Linked DNA regions of Homo sapiens: all the other regions are linked to region 3. The links are contacts of gene promoters, found by promoter capture Hi-C in blood cells and fetal thymus (Javierre and others, 2016). All regions are on one chromosome and are shown on one strand. Each heading gives the region's core, a stretch centred on a gene start or on the middle of the fragment in contact. The rest is flanking DNA. Distances are from core to core; before and after follow the strand shown. Region 1 overlaps RET (ret proto-oncogene). Region 2 overlaps RET (ret proto-oncogene). Region 3 holds the start of BMS1 (BMS1 ribosome biogenesis factor). Region 4 overlaps CSGALNACT2 (chondroitin sulfate N-acetylgalactosaminyltransferase 2).

Region 1 (4,557 bases), core at 1,872-4,371, 350 kb after region 3:
AAGGTGGTTTTACTTCTGATAGCCGGTGATTTTCCCTCCTAGCAGACATGCCACACCGGGTAAGAGCTCTGAGTCTTAGTGGTTAAGCATTCCTTTCTCTTCAGTGCCCAGCAGCACCCAGTGTTGGTCTGTGTCCATCAGTGACCACCAACATTCTGTGTTCACATGTGTGGGTCCAACACTTACTACCTGGTGTATGAAATTGGACCTGAACTGTTGGATTTTTCTAGTTGCCGCCAAACAAGGCAAAAAAATTTAAACATGAAGCACACACACAAAAAAGGCAGTAGGAAAAATGCTGGCCCTGATGACCTGTCCTTATTCAGAATGAGAGACTGCGGGGGGGGCCTGGGGGTAGTGTCAATGCCCCTCCAGGGCTGGAGGGGAAGAGGGGCCCCGAGGATGGGCCTGGGCTCAGCATTCGAGATCTTGAGAATGATTTTTTTTAAATCATGCAACCTTTCCTTAGGAAGACATTTGGTTTTCATCATGATTAAGATGATTCCTAGATTTAGCACAATGGAGAGATTCCATGCCATCTTTACTATGTGGATGGTGGTATCAGGGAAGAGGGCTCACAAGACACATTTGTCCCCCGGGCCCACCACATCATCCTCACGTGTTCGGTACTGAGCAGCCACTACCCCTGATGAGAACAGTATGAAGAAAGGGGGCTGTTGGAGTCCCAGAATTGCTGACAGCAGAGGCTTTGCTGCTGTGAATCCCACCTGCCACCAGCCTGCAGCACACCCCACAGCCAAGTAGAGGCGAAAGCAGTGGCTCATCCTACCTGTTAGGAGCAGGTAGGGCTTGTACTCACTTTAATTTGAATCTTATCAACTTACTCATAAAGGGACAGGCTAGCTAGCTGTGTTAGAAGTAGCAATGACAATGACCAAGGACTGCTACACCTCTGATTACAATTCTGATGTGAAAAAGATGGTGTTTGGCTCTTATAGAGCCTGTGTGAAAGGCCCATGGATCAGCTCTTCCTGTGTTTGTAATTTAATGCTGCTACAAGATGTTTCTGTTTCTTAGATTCTGACCATGACTCATAAGCTTCTTGTCATTCTTCATTGCTTGTTTGTGGTCACAGATGCACAACACTCCTCCAGTCTTGTGGGGGCAGCTTTTGGGAAGTCTCAGCAGCTCTTCTGGCTGTGTTGTCAGCACTGTAACTTCGCAGAAAAGAGTCGGATTACCAAAACACTGCCTGCTCTTCAGACTTAAAGCACTGATAGGACTTAAAATAGTCTCATTCAAATACTGTATTTTATATAGGCATTTCACAAAAACAGCAAAATTGTGGCATTTTGTGAGGCCAAGGCTTGGATGCGTGTGTAATAGAGCCTTGTGGTGTGTGCGCACACACCCAGAGGGAGAGTTTGAAAAATGCTTATTGGACACGTAACCTGGCTCTAATTTGGGCTGTTTTTCAGATACACTGTGATAAGTTCTTTTACAAATATCTATAGACATGGTAAACTTTTGGTTTTCAGATATGCTTAATGATAGTCTTACTAAATGCAGAAATAAGAATAAACTTTCTCAAATTATTAAAAATGCCTACACAGTAAGTGTGAATTGCTGCAACAGGTTTGTTCTCAGGAGGGTAAGAACTCCAGGTCTAAACAGCTGACCCAGTGATGGGGAATTTATCCTTGACCAATTTATCCTTGACCAATAACCTAATTGTCTATTCCTGAGTTATAAAAGTCCCCATCCTTATTAGCTCTACTGGAATTTTCATACACGTAAATGCAGAAGTTACTAAGTATTAAGTATTACTGAGTATTAAGTAGTAATCTGTCAGTTATTAAAATTTGTAAAATCTATTTATGAAAGGTCATTAAACCAGATCATGTTCCTTTTTTTGTAATCAAGGTGACTAAGAAAATCAGTTGTGTAAATAAAATCATGTATCATAAAATGTGTAAACTTTTTTTCTTTTTAACATTCTAGTTGGAAACAACAGATTTCTGATTTTGTAGTTTCCATACAATATTTAAAACATCACAAAGAATTCTATCATGATAACCACTGAGGCATCAATAGTGGTCGAGGACTAGGGGCTCTGGAGATATCGCTGGCTTATCTGGTACATTTGCGTGTGAATAGGCACATTGATAGAAACTGAAAAACTCAGCTAACTCCACTGTTCAAGGAATCCCTTCCTTAAAAGTGTCCATCCCTAGAACAAAGCAGCAGCCAGTGTCAAGTTTAGGTCTTCACAGTTCTCTAGCAATTTGCTTGTTGCTGATCTTTTGAAGTTGGCCTTAGAGCTGTGGGAGACAGAATACAAAATGCCAAGTCCTGAGGAAGGCCATTAGAAGTGTGAGGGAAAATGCTGTCCTGAACCACCATGAAGCCTGACATACTCACTACTTCTGTTTATGTCTTCCCCGAGGAATTCTCTGAGCTTCTCATGCCGGGCGTGGAGCTGATGGGTCAGTGGGCAAACGGGAGTTGTTGTCAACATCAGTCTCATCTGCGATTGCATTGTGTCAGATGCCAACGGCCTGTGTCACACACATACACGTGTGTATACGTGGGCCTTTGCACGCCTCGCCAGGTGGTGTACATGCAGGCCTTGGCACGCCTCGCCCAGTGCCCGCCCCAGGCCCATGAGGCCCCGCTTCCCAGCCGTGGGTGTCTGTGTCTGCTCACGGCTTCCTCCTTCAGCCTGGACCACGGGCTGGAAGTGAACGTAATCTCCAGAGCCAGCTGTTTGCTGTAGCCTTTACCTCTGAAAGTAGAAATCTACGCCAAGAAAAGTTAATGCTAAAAGCCACCCCTAATGTAGACTCTACATTAGGACTATTTGTGTGTGTATGTTTGCTGTTTTATTTTCCCCTAAAAACACATTTTCTGCCAACCTTCACGAAGGATTTCTTCCCACCACGAGGCCAGCTTATGTGGGCAGAAATCTAGTTGAATGTGCCTGAGAACAGGGCTTGAACAAATACTTCATACACAAAAGAAATTTTGAAGGGAAAGCATAATTTCTAACATATAAAGAAAGCCTCTCCCGCAGGCAGGTGGAGCAGTTAGCGGTGCCTCTCTCTGCCTCGGGTGCGTTCACGCATAGTGTCTGGCACACCTTGTTTTATTGCTCTTTGCTTTATTGCGTTTTTCACAAATTGAAGTTTTGTGGCAACGCTGAGTCGTCGAGAAAGTCTATCAGGGCCATTCTTCCAACAGCCCACACTCACTTCATGTCTCTCTATCAGTACTGTTAAGCAGTAAAGAATCTTTAAACCAAGGTATGTACATTGTTTTTTAGACATAGTTCTGTCACACACTTAACAGACTCCAGTACAGTGTAAAGTGTAACTTTTATATGCACTGGGAAACCAAGAGACTTGTGTGGCTCACTTATTTGGGATCTTCAATCTTCTTTGCTTTACCGGAGTGGTCTGGAACAGTATCTCTGAGGTTCGCCTGTGTTTAGTGGTCCTCACAACTGGGGGGTGGTTCTAGGAAGTCCTAGGGAATCCTAACCTCTGTGGCCCTGAAAAAGCAGAAAGGTGGGTCTTCAGGGTGCATGCAGCAGTGTGCGTGGCCCCACACGTCTTCCACATGAAGATGCTCCAGGTGCAAGTCCTAGGCTTGTGCGCCTGCAGGGAAAGCACCCTCTCTGCCAGGGCTCCTGCTGTGGCCCTGTCCCTTCTCCATGGCAGCAGCCTTGACCGAAACTGTGTAGAGTCTCCCACCTCTTCAGGGAGCTGGGACTCAGGAAGGATCATCTTAGCTGAGGTCATAAGAACCTGCATGTAGAGAACTTTTCAGCGTGGGGCCACTACTGTGTCCTGCTGCTGAGGCCAGGTAGTGGCCGTCTGAGGGCTGCAAGGGCAGGCTGCTCCCAGGAGTTAAGGAGGCAAACACTCTGAACACCCTGGAGAAATCACAGTTTATCTTTGCAACTACAAATTTGAGTGCTGTGTCAAGTGACCAGGTATTTTTGCAGATGTCTCTGAGGTGTTAAATCACAGGACCTGGCCAAGCAAGATCTCTCAGCTGGACCCCGGGCAGGGGATCCTTTATGGGGGCACATCTCACTGTGGGGGCTGCAGAAATGTGAAGGTCATCATGGAGGGAGCTTGCGGTCTGAAACTACCCCAGCCACTGTGACTACCACACTGGGAGAGATCATAGACCTGCATCCTCTCAGATGACACTGAGCAGTTCAAGCTAAAAATGTGCTGGTAAGCAAGGTAAGTGAATTCTAAAGCTAAAAAAAATCATTTTTCATTTTCTGAGAAGGAAACAAGTTTGATATTTCATACACAGACAATATTTACCATGCAGACTGTCAATTTCTTGAATAAAAATATGAAATTCATTTAAAACATTCAAGTTTTTGTGTATTTTTCTCAATGTATTAACAGAAGAGCAACCTGTTTCTTGGCTGCTCGATTGTCTCACCTGCACATCAATCCTTTTCTATACTCTCCCATGGAAGAAGGGGTCTCCAGGGGCAAGAGACTTTGGTCAGAGGACTGCAGGGAGCCAGGCAGCACCCATGTCTTGGAGCCTCCCCTCTCCCTAGGGCGTGTG
Region 2 (3,519 bases), core at 311-2,810, 320 kb after region 3:
CAGCTTTCATTCTTGTGGGGCAGACAGAGCGTCTGAGCATGCCAAGGAAATCAGGTGGCTTCTGGAAGGAGCTAGCTGGGGAGGAAACTGGGAAGAGGGAAACGCTGAAGAGGAGGGGAACAGACGAGGAGACCTCCATTCCTCTATCGTAAATTGGGTGGTCAGGGTGGGGGCTAGCAGAGCAAAGGTGGGAGGGTGCCGGGTAGGCAGGCCTAGCCCCTTGGAGGGCACCACAGTGTGACCCTCGTGTGCCTGGAGTGCACTGAGCGACAGGGAAGAGCTGAGGCTGATGGGGCAGAATAGTTCCTGGGGCAGGGGGCAGGTCTGGGAGTGGCTTGCAGGGCTTTCTCCGGAGGAACATGGGGAGCTATGGAAGACTTTGGAGGGAGGGAGTGCTGGCAGGACCTGACTTAGTTTTAAAAGGATTAGTCAGACTACTGTGTTAGGAATGGTTTGGGGTGGGAAGGTTCAGGGGCGAAGCTGGGAGACAATCAGAAGGCTACAGGAGAAACCTCTGAACAGGAGGATGTGGGGTGTGATGCCGGGATACGGGTGGAAGCCGAGGCATGGCGAGAAGCAGGCAGCTGCAGCCAGTCAGAGGGTGGGATGAGCTGGATCCCAGTGGAGAGGGGAGAAGGCAGCTGACTAGGTGCAGGGAGGCCCCATTTGACCATCAGAAAGTCAGGAAGTGGGGCTCAACCAGGTCACAGAGGCTGCACCGCTGGCAAGTGTGTCCTAAATTCACACTAACTTTATCACACAAACATGGCAAGAATATTAAAATCTCAGTAAAGGAAGACAAGCCATCACTTATGCTTCCCCAGATTCCTTTCATTCTCTGGGGCAGGGTTGATGGAGCACTTGGTTTTTTGCATGCTGCCCTTTTTCACTAAAAATTATGTGATTAAATTTAGTTTAGTGGGGGGTTTTTTGTAATCACACTCAACAGAGGAAAGCATTATATGATAAGCATTTCCCACATACGTAATTCATGCGCAAGGCATGGTTCTGCCTGGGAGGCTTGTGGAGTTGCCCCCGCCTCCTTGGGGTGGGTTGTGGGGTCTTCAGCGGTGACCTTCCGCCTTCAGCATGCCCCCTTTTCTGGATTATTTCTGGAGGACAAATCCGAGGTCAGGCTCGTTGAAGACTGTGTTGTGGTTCCTGGCCCTGCTTCAGGGGCGATGTAGTCTAGCGCGAGCTGCCATGCAGGGCACGGAGCATTCGCTTTTGTCTCGACATCCGGCCTTCAGAGGATGACCAGCCTGGCGACGCACTGGACAAGGAGGTGTAGAGTGGGGATGCACACTAGGCGGTCGGAAATCATTATGCGTTAATGTCACATCATACCCCAGATGTCCACTGTGTTTGTTTTCAAGTGGTAGAATCGTGGCTTTCTCACGTTCTCTAAAATGAACACATATTGCTTCCATAATTGAAAAAAAAAAAAACCTAACAGTTTTTAAAAAGCAGCCAAGGTCACCAATATGGTGAAAGGCCGTCCCTACTAAAAATACAAAAATTAGCCGGGCATGGTGGCGGGCGCCTGTAGTCCCAGCTACTCGGGAGGCTGAGGCAGGAGAATCGCCTGAACCCGGGAGTTGGAGGTTGCAGTGAGCCAAGATCGCGCCACTGCACTCCAGCCTGGGCAACACAGCGAGACTCCATCAAAAACAAAAAAAAAGCAGCCAAGGCCAGTAGCTGGCTCTCTAGGGCTGCAGTGCAGCTTGGGCTGAGGCAAAGCCACCCTTCCCCACACAAGGCCACTCCTGATCAAGGCCAGGTGGGCGGAGGGGTGTCCCAGTCCCTACTGGTTGATCAGGGTGCCTGGTCCTGGCTCTTCCCAACCAGCACGAGTGAGGACGCAGCTGCAGCAGGACGTAAGCACAGTCATCGCTGCAAACTGCAAACTCGTAAGCACAGTCATCGCTGCAAACTGCAAACTCGTGCTCCGAGCGCTGCCCTCCCCTGTGGAGCGGAGGAGGGGAGGCCTGGGGCCGCGGCGGTGTGCGCCCCGCTCTGACCGCAGAGCCCCCTTCCCGAGGAAAGCGGCTGGCCCGGTCCCGGCTGGTGATCACGCGGGGCCCCTGTCTGCTTGGTGCGCAGGTGAGGGTCTGCCCTTCCGCTGCGCCCCGGACAGCCTGGAGGTGAGCACGCGCTGGGCCCTGGACCGCGAGCAGCGGGAGAAGTACGAGCTGGTGGCCGTGTGCACCGTGCACGCCGGCGCGCGCGAGGAGGTGGTGATGGTGCCCTTCCCGGTGACCGTGTACGACGAGGACGACTCGGCGCCCACCTTCCCCGCGGGCGTCGACACCGCCAGCGCCGTGGTGGAGTTCAAGCGGAAGGAGGTGCTTGTCCGCGCGTGCTGTGGTCTACCCAGTGTCTGTCTCCGGCCACAGTTCGTTTCTCGGTCGGTTTAGTGTCCGTGTAGCCACCCAACCGTGTGGCCGACCATTCGCGCTTTCATTTGTCCTTCGCCTCCGTCTGCGCCGTCTGTCCTAGGGGGAGGGGAAGGGGGAGTCCTGCCAGCACCCAGCTGGGCCTTGCCTCGGGAGGCAAGGACCAGGACGAGGCCCGAGGGCTCGCGTCTGGGGCATACTTGTGCCGCTGCAGGCGGGCGCGGCGCGCTGCCCGGGCGGGGAGCATCTGCCGGGAGGGCACTCCCTCCCACCAGCAGTTAGCCCCCAACGGGAGGGCCCTTGAGTGACCACGAGCAGAGCCGGGGATTGGAGAAGGACGGGAAGGCGGATCACCTCCGGCGCCGCCCGCCCCGCCCTTCTCCGGCTCGCGCTGGTGGAGCGCGACCGCCACCTGCTGGGCCTCGGCCTTCCTGCAGCCGGCCCACCCAGCAGGGGCCGTGGGAGAGTGGGCGTGGGGACTGAGGTAGGTAGTACGTTGCCTTGTTCCGCTTCTCTGGGCACACCACGTGCAGGTTTGGCAGGGAAAGGGGGTCTGGTCGAAAGCACAATTTGTGAGTAAAGGCTATGTGGGCCTCCCTGGGGTGACAGCAGAGGCCTGGTGGGCAGAGCCATCCAGGTGCCCAGCGGCTTTCCTCACAACCCCCTCCAGCCTGGGGTAGGAGGATGCTTGGAACAGAGCGCTCTGATGTACACCTGGCCTCGGAGCTCGGCTCTGCCGGCTGTTCCTGTGTGACCTTGACCTGACCTTCACCCTGTGGGGCCCAGCTTCCTCAGGGGAGAGTGGAGGTGCTCATCCTGCTCTCTGGGGACCTGGATGGGACCTGCCAGCAGGGTGCCTGGGCATCGGCTGTAATTCTCCTTATAAGAGGTCTGCATTGTACCTGTTACACAGGCGAGGCTCAGTGGCTCAGGGAAGGTGACGGCCAGGCTGGCCAGTGACCCCGTGGGAACTTGAACCCAGGTCAGACTGTCCCCAGACCTGGCTCTGACAACACACATCTGGTCCACCTATGGGCTGTGTGGGACGTGCAGCATTCTAAGGTCTCTGGTTTTGGGGGGTCTGAGGGGCCCATCTCGCCTGCACTGACCAACGCCCTCTGCA
Region 3 (4,920 bases), core at 1,438-3,937:
CTATCATGAGAACAGCACTAGATGAATGGTGCTAAACCTTTCATGAAGACTCTGCTCCCATGATCCAATCACCTCCCACCAGGCCCCACCTCCAACATTGGGGATTACAATTCCACACGAAATTTGGGCAGGGACAGACCCAAAACATATCAATAACTGATACAGATGGCATATAAAACTGAGACAGAATTAGATCATCCAGGGAATAAGTATAGACACAGAAGAAAAGAAAACTGAAGCCCGAAACCTATGGCCTCACTCTAATTTAAACAGGTGAGAGCAGGGGAACCAGCAAAAGCAGCTGAGAAAGAGCATCCAGGGCTGCAGGTGGAGTCCTGTGAGACAAGTGAATCAAAGTGAATAGGAGAGGGGCCAGAGTATGTATTGACTGTTCTTTTGTGAAGTTTTGCTGCAAAGGGGAACATAGAAAAGGTGCAGGTCCTGGTATAGGAAATAGGGTCGAGTAATTTCTTTGTTTTGAAGATGAGAGAAATAGCTGCATGTTATGTGACGATGAGAAGAGTCCAGTAGAAAGGAAAATATTGCTGATGTTGCAGAGAGGATAGGCTGGCTGGAGTGACACCCTGGAGCAGTAAGAGATGATGGGATCCAGCAGTCCAGTGCAGGATTCTTTGGGTGGACCTAGCAGTTGTTCATCCACAGTCACAGGGAGGCAATAAGAGGCGGATGGGTGGAGGTGGACGTGGGAGTCTGTGGAAGACTTTTACCACTTCTATTCTCTTAGCAAAGCAGGAGGCAAGGAAGGGAGAGGCAGTGGGAAGGATTGAACAGAGAGGAGGAAGTGCGAAATACTCACTTGGAACAATGGGAGATTGAATAGACCAGGCAAAGAATGATTAAAGTGAGGACGGCTGGCATGGTCCTGTTTTCCTCCAGCCATGTTTAGTTGCATCGTCGTGGCATGGAATAGATGGAGAGCTGGGTTTATCCAGGGCTCCCATCTTACCAAGCAGATAGGAGATGACAGGGAGGTGCATGAGTTGAGGAGGTGTGCAAGGGATCAATGAGAATGGTTGGCCATTGAGTTTAAGCTGGCTCACTAGAGAGGGTCATAAAGGAAGAAACAGTGAACAAGTAGTAAGATCTTGATTGGAGGTGCTGGTAAGGTTGCAGGAGTTTTGTTTCAGGGCAGTATAGGGAGTGACCTGGACAGATAGGAGGATAGATAGACCTGGTCAGAGTGGGATACTGTGGGGGTTGCAGTCCTTGGACCTGACAAGGTCTAAGGTCTGATCATGGAGGGAGGGGGAAGCTGAGGTAGGGCAGAGGACAGGAGTGGGCTTCATGAGACCAAAAGGATGTTGGAAGGATTATCTACCTGGATACTGAAATCTTCAAGAAGTAAGAGGTGTAGTGTGAAGAAGTTACAACACTCTAAGCTCTTCAGGGATAAGGGAAGCATGTGCCACGTGGGTAGCCTCCCAAGTCCAGCACCCAGTATCTAGAATATGCAGAGTGAATACCTGGGGGCTGCTGAGGGCAAGAACAAGGTGCCTGTGAGAAGACCTGACGCCTGGGGTTCTCGTGACAGGAGTGGGCCTAGTTTTTGGTGTAGAATTGAGCCTTGAATGCACCAGCGGGATCATATTGAAAAGAAACCCTCCAAGACTAAAGGAAGATGCATCCTCTGACAATGTACGCTCTGTAGGCTCCCAAGTAGCTGGGCTGGGGATTAGATGGACTCCAAGGCATTTCCTCAGGTGGCAATGGGCGGATCCCTGGGAAGGTAAAGCTGTGCAGTAAGAAAACGGCAAGATGCTACGTTCACTCAGGTAAAGCCCCTTTCCCGGGTTTAGGGAGGGCGAGGCAGTTTAGGCTGGGTCAGTTTGTCCCTGCCCTCACGGTTTGTTGGTCCTGGCAAAAGAGGGCCTTATGTTATTTATTTTTCTTAGAGACAGTGTCTTGCTCTGTTGCCCAGGCTGAAGTCCAGTGGCTCATCTCAGTTCACTGCAGACTCCGCCTCCTGGGATCAAGCGATCCTCCCACCTCAGCCTCCAGAGTAGCTGGGACCACAAGCACCACAGGCGCCCGGCACGATGCCGGCTAATTTTTTTTTTTTTTTTTTTTAAGAGAGAGAGGTAGGCTCCCTATGTTGCCCAGGCTTGTCTTGAATTCCTGGGCTCAAGCAATCCTCCCTCCTCGGCTTCCCAAAGTGTAGGGATTACAGGCGTGAGCCACTGCGCCCTGCCAAAAGAGGGCTTTAGGGCACCCCAGAACGCGAGATCCCCCTCATCTGTAATCTTTAAAGAGGAGGAAGTGTACTCCAAATCAAGCGATAGTCCATTCGTCCTTGGCACGGTGACTGCCGGGAGGCCAGGACCAAATGTGTCTCCTTCCGGCTTTTGCACCACACTAACTAACCGGCGCCAGGCCGCAGAGCCGCCCTGGCCTTCGGCGAGAACTCAGGCGAGCGCGGCGCACGCTGCTCCGGAGTCCCACCGCGGAAGTTGAGGCCGCGGATTCCGAGGGCGGGGTGGAGAGGAATCTGGAAGGACCTGGACCCGGTGGAACGCACTGCGCGGACGGCGCCTGCGTCCGCACTCAGCTGTTCAGCCCTCTTTCTTCAGGCTCTCCCCTGAAAGCCGTCCCCATGCCGGTCTCTTTTTTCTGCCTTCTTGTTTCCCTCCGGCGAGTCAGCGCGACTGTGAATTTCCGTTTCCGGCGGTGTCCATGCTGACCTGAGGAGTCGCGGCTGCGAGCAGGTTCGGTGCTGCGGGTTGGGGTAGGCGGCGGTGGGGTCCCTGGTTCTGGGGCACTGGGAAGATCGCGAGTCGTGCGTGTGGGAAGGTCCTCCCCCGGTCCTCCGGGTCATCTTTGCTCCCGAGGAGCGGCATATTTCTCATCTGGCGGAGGTGTCCTGGGGTAGTTGGGTGAGTGACGTGATGAATCCCTGCAGAGAGCCCAGACGGGGAGGGAAGGTGGCTGGGCGACGTCGTTTCCTGGCGACGTGGTCCCGGTAGGAGACTTAGACCTGAGCTGGATCTGTTGACCCCAAATTGTGCTTTTCCCACCAAGAAGAAAGACAGGGAGAGAAACATTAGTACAAGTGCTGAACTAAAATATAGCAGAGAAGAAACATAATCTCTGAAATCACACAGCTATTCGGTTTCAAAGCGTTCCTAGCGCCCAGCTCTCCTAACTCCTGGCCAGTGTTCTTGACATTATGGTAATACATAAAGACTTTGTTTCCGCTGGTGTGTGTCTGTGGGAAGCCTCTGACTCACCTCCGTGCTCCAGTAGCACCCTGTGCAGCCTTCCAATGTCGCCCTTATTGCGTGGCGCGGAAGATAATAGTTTGGATTTCCTCTGCAAGTCAGATAATAGCTGTATCCACTTACTGGCACAGTGCCTAGCACATCGTAGACAGACACAAATATTTATTCAACGGAATGAATACAGTACCTTAATTGAATGAAATGGCATCCTGCTCCGCTTTTTTTTTTTAATCAAGCTGTCAGATTTTATGCAGCCCGATTTCCTAAAATAACTCACTAATTCAGTGATTGCCAATTTATTAGCCACAGATTCCCAGGTAACTCAGAAATCACTGGAAGGGTCTCTGTAAGTTCATGGGGTCTCCAGGTGTCATCTAGAACCAGTCCTATCTCACACGTACAGCTATTTCTATTTTTCAAATGTATGTAGATAAGTTGTAATTTAGGAGTTTTACAGAGTCAACAGGTACTAAAAGTAATACTGCGATCATATTGGAGGTTCATAAAAACGTTTCACATTTTTTTATTAAAATTTAAGTTTTAGTTTAAGTTAGGAAACCACTTCATCAGTCCAGTTGATACCTGGGTCTGAGCTGTCCAGTATGGTAGCCACATGTGACTATTTGGAGTTAGAATGAAATTAATTAAAAACTCATTTTTTCAGTTTCCCTAAGTATATTGTAAGTAACCACATGTGGCTAATGGCTAAATGGCTGAAAAGTACAGATATAGTATATTTCTATCCTTGCAGAAATAGATACTGCTGATGTTGACACTTAAGATGAATAAAAAGTAACTTAACCATAAAATGTAATCTTAAGAGAGGTAACTCATCTAATTTATAGCATAACAGAGAGAAATGAAATTGGGGATGGTTAAGCAGTTTCTACCCTTGTTCAGTGAACAAATACATCATCTCTTCATAAAGAAATAAATGAAATTTACTGTTTTTCCCTGGGTATTGCCTGGATTGTAAAATGCTTCTCCCATCTCCTTACCCCAACCTTCTTCCTTGTAGGTTAGAGTTACTTGTTATTGGTAAATAGCCACTATGGAGGCTAAGGACCAGAAGAAACACAGAAAGAAAAACAGTGGACCCAAAGCTGCAAAGAAAAAGAAGCGGCTTCTGCAGGATCTCCAGCTAGGAGACGAAGAAGATGCCCGGAAGAGAAATCCCAAAGCTTTTGCAGTTCAGTCTGCTGTGCGGATGGCTCGATCCTTTCACAGGTATGTTAGGCTACGGTCTGGTCATTCTTCCATTGATTCTTTTTTTAAATAGTAGGAGCCTCTCACAGGTGACATTTGGATTCACGAGTCTAGTCCAGCTCCAAAGGACATGGAGATTCATGGTGTGTGGCTTTCACTAAAACGTGAGAAGCTTTTCCCATAGAAGCTGCCTTGCCTCCAGCATCTGCATACTGGTTAGTGTTTATTGCCCAGGATACAAGAATTTATAGACTTTGTTTGTTCCTAAATTTTAAACTGTTTCTATGGTGATAAGTGTGCTTTTTCCCCCCAGGTATGTTTTACATAGTTGTAATATAAAATACAAAAATTACAATATTTAATACTAACATAGCTTTATTTAGTGAGCCCTTGTGATATGCCTAGCAGTGTACTTTAAACATTATTCAACTAAATCCTTCCAGCAGCCTTACCAGAGTAGGAATCATTCTTGCCCTCA
Region 4 (4,599 bases), core at 1,335-3,834, 390 kb after region 3:
TAGATTTAGAGAAGTTGCAAAGATAGTACAAAGAGTTCCATACTTCACCCAGTTTCCTCTAATGCTAACATCTTATGTAACCATGGTACATTTGTCAAAGTGAAGAAATTAATATTGGTAAGTTACTGCTAAGTACACTAGGATTACACCAGTTTTTCTACTAATGTCCTTTTTCTGTTTCAGAATCGAGTCGAGAATACCAAATTGCTTTTAACATAATCTTTTATTATTAATACTAAGAAAAAGTAGAAATGATTAAGAAGTCACTTTAAGATGTTTAAAAAAATGAAAAATAACTTCAAGGAAAGTAATAAAGGCAGAAGTTAATAAAACAAAAATAGATTGAGAAATATAGAAGCTTATGTTTATGTACAAAAAATTTAATCATAAAGTAGACAGATTTCAGGTAAAAAGGAAAACATTGGAAATTAGAATATGAAAACATTGAGATAAATCAATTTTATAGGGTAAGTTTTCTAAATTATAAATAAATGAAAGATTTGAGAATTTATAAAATATGAACACAGGCTAAGTTCATGTTAGTATTTTATGAATAAAAGAGGTGCAAGTGGGCCGGGCATGGTGGCTCACGCCTGTAATCCCAGCACTTTGGGAGGTCAAGACGGGTGGATCACAAGGTCAGGAGTTCGAGACCAGCATGGCCAATATGGTGAAACCCCGTCTGTATTAAAAATAAAAAAATTAGCCAGGCGTGGTGGCACGAGCCTGTAGTCCCACCTACTCAGGAGGCTGAGGCAAAAGAATCACTTGAACCTGGGAGGCGGAGGTTGCAATGAGCCAATATCACGCCACTGCACTCCAGCCTGGGTGACAGAGTGAGACTCCATCTCAAAAAAACAAAACAAAAAAAAGGTGGAAGCTCTGAAGAAATTAAGAGCCATTTAAAAAACAGTTATCAAAAAGTTACCCTGTAGGTATATAAATACAATGTTTTAATTTATAAGCTTTTCCAGACTCTCAAAGAGCAGGTAATATTAGCACCATATGATGTACTTAACATATTTTATGAGGCCACCATTATCTTCATATCAACACTTGGCATAGTACACACAGACACACACACACACACACACACACACACACACACACGCCTCTACCTTATCTATAGGCCAGTATTATGAATATAAATACAAATAGGTTCAAAATGGCAAACTGAGCACCCACGTCTGCCATATCTGACGGTGAATTATTCTGAAGAAAAGGGTACATTAGTACTGGAAAATGAGAGAAGGTGTTAGCAGCCGTAAGTCTTGAGAACTTTCTGTAAGACGATAGCAGTTAGCGTAAGATTTCTGGAGGAGAGAACAGACTAGAATGTGTTCAAGAGAACAGTGAGTGAAGATGGGGCTGCTTTGCATCCTCTGAGCTCATAGCAGACAGAATGGAGGGAGCCTGGAATAAACATGCTTCTCTAGGTGTGCTGAGAAGCAGGCATCACAGGGATTGACCCTCAGTCTAAGGCAGTGCATGTGGTCCCTGGAGCTGGAGAGGCTGGTCGGGGTGGCTAGGGAGCCCCTAGACTACAAAAGTGAACTACTGTTAGCGCATTCCCCCTGAGACCCTGTTCTAATCTCCTTGACTGTGACTGGAGATAGGCCATTGTAATCAAAGCTAACAGCCATGGACTTCTGAACAATACTTGAAACAAAAGTGAGTAGCAATTAACCAAGACTAACCAAACATTTGAGGAAAAACAATACTATGAAAGAGGCACCAAGTGTTAATACACAGAAAAATTAACACATGAGTATATGAATACAGATAGAAAGTAATTTTAAAATATATCTTTGAGGAGATTAGAGAAAATGTTAAATTCATAAAACAGGATTTGTTGCTTTAAAAAATCAGAACTTGGAAATTGTGAAAATATTTTTAAAATCAGTAAATGGTCTGAATAGCAGAATGGTTACAGTTGAATCAAATTTGTAAACTGGAAGACAACCCAACTGGACACGTAAAGTTCACGAGATAACATGAGAGAAAAATTAAGACAAGGAAGATCAAGCCAGAAGCTCCCAAATTATTAATAGGAGTTCAGAAAAGAGAGAATATTGAGTGGAGGAAATGGAAGAAAGTTTCCAGAGCTAAGCAGAAACAAATCTTCTGGTGTTTGGAGAACAACAGTAAAAGGACAATTCTAATAGCTTCCAGAGACACTAAAAATAGCAAAACCCAGTTTGTTCACAAAGGAGTGACAATCAGATTGGCATTCGTCTTCTTTTTGAAAACACTGGTGTTAGAAAACAATAAAGCAATACTATGAAAATTCTGAAGAAAAGTAACTTTGATTCTAGAATTCATATTCAACCTACTATTTTAGGACAAAATAGACATTTTTGAGCTTTCAAGGACTCAGAATTTATTTCTCAACAGACCTTTGTAATCGAGTCCAGCAAAATGATAAATGTATACATTGAGAGAGGAGGACCTGAGAGTAAATAGTGGTGAACAACCAAAAAAATTAAGTCTAAACATTTGTTGATGTAATAGTGTAAATAGTTATGTTGACATAATAAAAAGGCAATTAATACCAATTTGGGATTAAGATGTCAGCGGGTTATGTACATGGTATACTTATGTGTATTACCTAGCTGTCAGCTGAGAGGGCCTAGAACCAGTGACACCCTAACAGTAACAAGTACACTCAGCTTCCAAATCTTAGTTTCTAATACTATTCTCCAATCAAACGAGCCAGAGGTCCACGGAGAAATGGTTGATTCCAGGGCAGGGGCAAAAAATATACAAGAAGACCCTGGAGCATCTTACAGTGCCAGAAAGTAAGAAAGCACTCAATAAAAAGATAGGGGGAATATGTCGAAGGGGCACAGGAGCCAACAGAAAGAGCTCCCAGTGCCCAAGCTGGAACAACCTGAGCAATGAAATAAATAACTTAAACCTGGATTATAACCCAAAGCATCAAGTAAATAGCCATGAGTCTATACTGATACAAATGAGTGAGTGAATGAGCAGATAAATATTGAGTGACTAGACTAGATAGGAAAGAAAAGTTAAGTCTTCCTTACAGAATTCCAAATAACTTATGTAGATACTCCCTCTTCCAGTAGGTGGAACTAGGGGACTCACTTTCAAAGAACATAGTATGGAAAGAAAAAACAAACTTTTCACGGGAGAAACCCAGCAGACACCTTAACCAAGGGATACCATGTACCCATGACATGACATAATGAGAAGGACACTTTAGCTCACAGTCCTCTTCCAAAAACGTAGATAACTTCCCCAGGAAAGTCACAGGGAAAGCTGCAGCAAGCCCACATTGAGGAGCATTGTACAAAATACCTGACCATTCTTCCTCAAAACTGTCAGGGTCACCAAAAACAAGACTGAGAAACCATCATAGCCAAGAGGAGACTAAGGAGACATGACAACCAAATGCAATGTGGTGCCCTGGACTAGGTCCTAGAATAGAAAAAAAAGACAGTAAAGGGAAAGCTGGTGAAATCCAAATGAAATCTGGAGTTGAGTTAAATAGTAATATAGCAATGATGGTTCCTTAGTTTTGACAAATGTACCACAACAATGTAAGATGATAACATTAGGGGAAGCTAAAACTGGATGAGGGGTATACAGGAACTCTCTTTACTGTTTTGCAACTTCTTTGTAAATCTAAAATTATTCCAAAATAAAAGGTTGTATATTAAAATTAATTAAAACAAAAAGAGGCAAATAAAGTCAACATAGAAGCGTGAAGGGAATGTAAAAGCATGCTAATACTCTTTTTTTTTTTTTTTGAGATGGAGTTTCGCTCTTGTTGCCCAGCCTGGAGTGCAGTGGCATGATCTTGGCTCACTGGAAACTCCACCTTCCCGTTTCAAGCGATTCTCCTGCCTCAGCCTCCCAAGTAGCTGGGATTACAGGCACACACCACCACGCCCAGCTAATTTTTGTATTTTTAGTAGAGATGGGGTTTCACCATGTTGGCCAGACTGGTCTCGAACTCCTGACCTTGTGATCTGCTGGCCTCAGCCTCCCAAAGTGTTGGGATTATAGGCATGAGCCACCGCACCCGGCCAAAGCATGCTAATATTCTTGCCTGGTTTGGAGGGTTGTAGGGGAAGAATGATTTGAATGCTGATTCATTCTAGGTGTTGCATAGCAACTTAAGTTTAAGCACTTCAAGTTCTAGTTTCACCACTTGTAACCTTTGCAAGTTGCTTAACTTTTCTAAGCTTCAGTCTCCTCACTTAAAAGACAAAAACTTGTTTTCCTTGATGTTTAAAGCTATATTAGAAGTAAATAAGAAGGAAAAAAATGGGTAAGACAGTTGATAATTCACATATTTAAATAGTCAGCCTTACTAGGAATAATTTAGAACAGCAGTATAATGCTTTGTTTCTGCTGTTAGGTCACTGCTTTTAAAAAGCAAAGCCATGTGAGCAAGACTGGGGGATGGGAGCTCCTCCGTCGCTTCTGTTGGGGATTCAGGCCAGTTCTCTGAGTCGAGTTCTAAACAGATTCATCCCTCTGATCCAGTAATTTCCACCCCCAACAGTCTTTCCTGGGGAAGTAATCGAGCTACATGATGGTAATATGCATAAATTGATAACATTAAAAGCAAGC

The links. Contacts are between HindIII fragments. The CHiCAGO score rates a contact against its expected background, and 5 or more counts as called.
Region 1: a contact is called between a fragment that was not itself captured here and the fragment with the promoter of BMS1 in region 3, in 3 of 17 cell types (naive CD8 T cells, total CD8 T cells and total CD4 T cells). The highest score is 6.6, in naive CD8 T cells.
Region 2: a contact is called between a fragment that was not itself captured here and the fragment with the promoter of BMS1 in region 3, in 7 of 17 cell types (naive CD8 T cells, endothelial precursors, monocytes and 4 more). The highest score is 7.4, in naive CD8 T cells.
Region 4: a fragment that was not itself captured here is called in contact with the fragment with the promoter of BMS1 in region 3 in 1 of 17 cell types (monocytes); the score reaches 5.4 in monocytes.

Annotation. Positions count from the first base shown.
Region 1 is chr10:43,128,422-43,132,978 of GRCh38, forward strand. RET (ret proto-oncogene) reads left to right here. Exons shown (of 20, transcript NM_020975.6): 20 at 1-1,930. Among named protein-coding and RNA genes, the nearest start is that of CSGALNACT2-DT, 7.7 kb to the right of the region's middle. RefSeq lists enhancers at 1,913-2,513, 2,514-3,114. The HindIII fragment of the contact is 4,128 bases long and covers 1,058-4,557 here.
Region 2 is chr10:43,102,849-43,106,367 of GRCh38, forward strand. It overlaps RET (ret proto-oncogene), which reads left to right. Exons shown (of 20, transcript NM_020975.6): 4 at 2,104-2,345. Among named protein-coding and RNA genes, the nearest start is that of RET, 28 kb to the left of the region's middle. RefSeq lists enhancers at 1,923-2,674, 3,164-3,263 and a silencer at 2,674-2,903. The HindIII fragment of the contact is 7,011 bases long and covers 1-3,519 here.
Region 3 is chr10:42,780,108-42,785,027 of GRCh38, forward strand. It overlaps BMS1 (BMS1 ribosome biogenesis factor), which reads left to right and starts at 2,688. Exons shown (of 23, transcript NM_014753.4): 1 at 2,688-2,723; 2 at 4,255-4,463. The coding sequence starts at 4,288. RefSeq lists an enhancer at 2,519-2,868. The HindIII fragment of the contact is 6,696 bases long and covers 1-4,415 here.
Region 4 is chr10:43,167,600-43,172,198 of GRCh38, forward strand. The region is part of intron 6 of CSGALNACT2 (chondroitin sulfate N-acetylgalactosaminyltransferase 2); the gene reads left to right. Among named protein-coding and RNA genes, the nearest start is that of CSGALNACT2, 31 kb to the left of the region's middle. The HindIII fragment of the contact is 3,243 bases long and covers 964-4,206 here.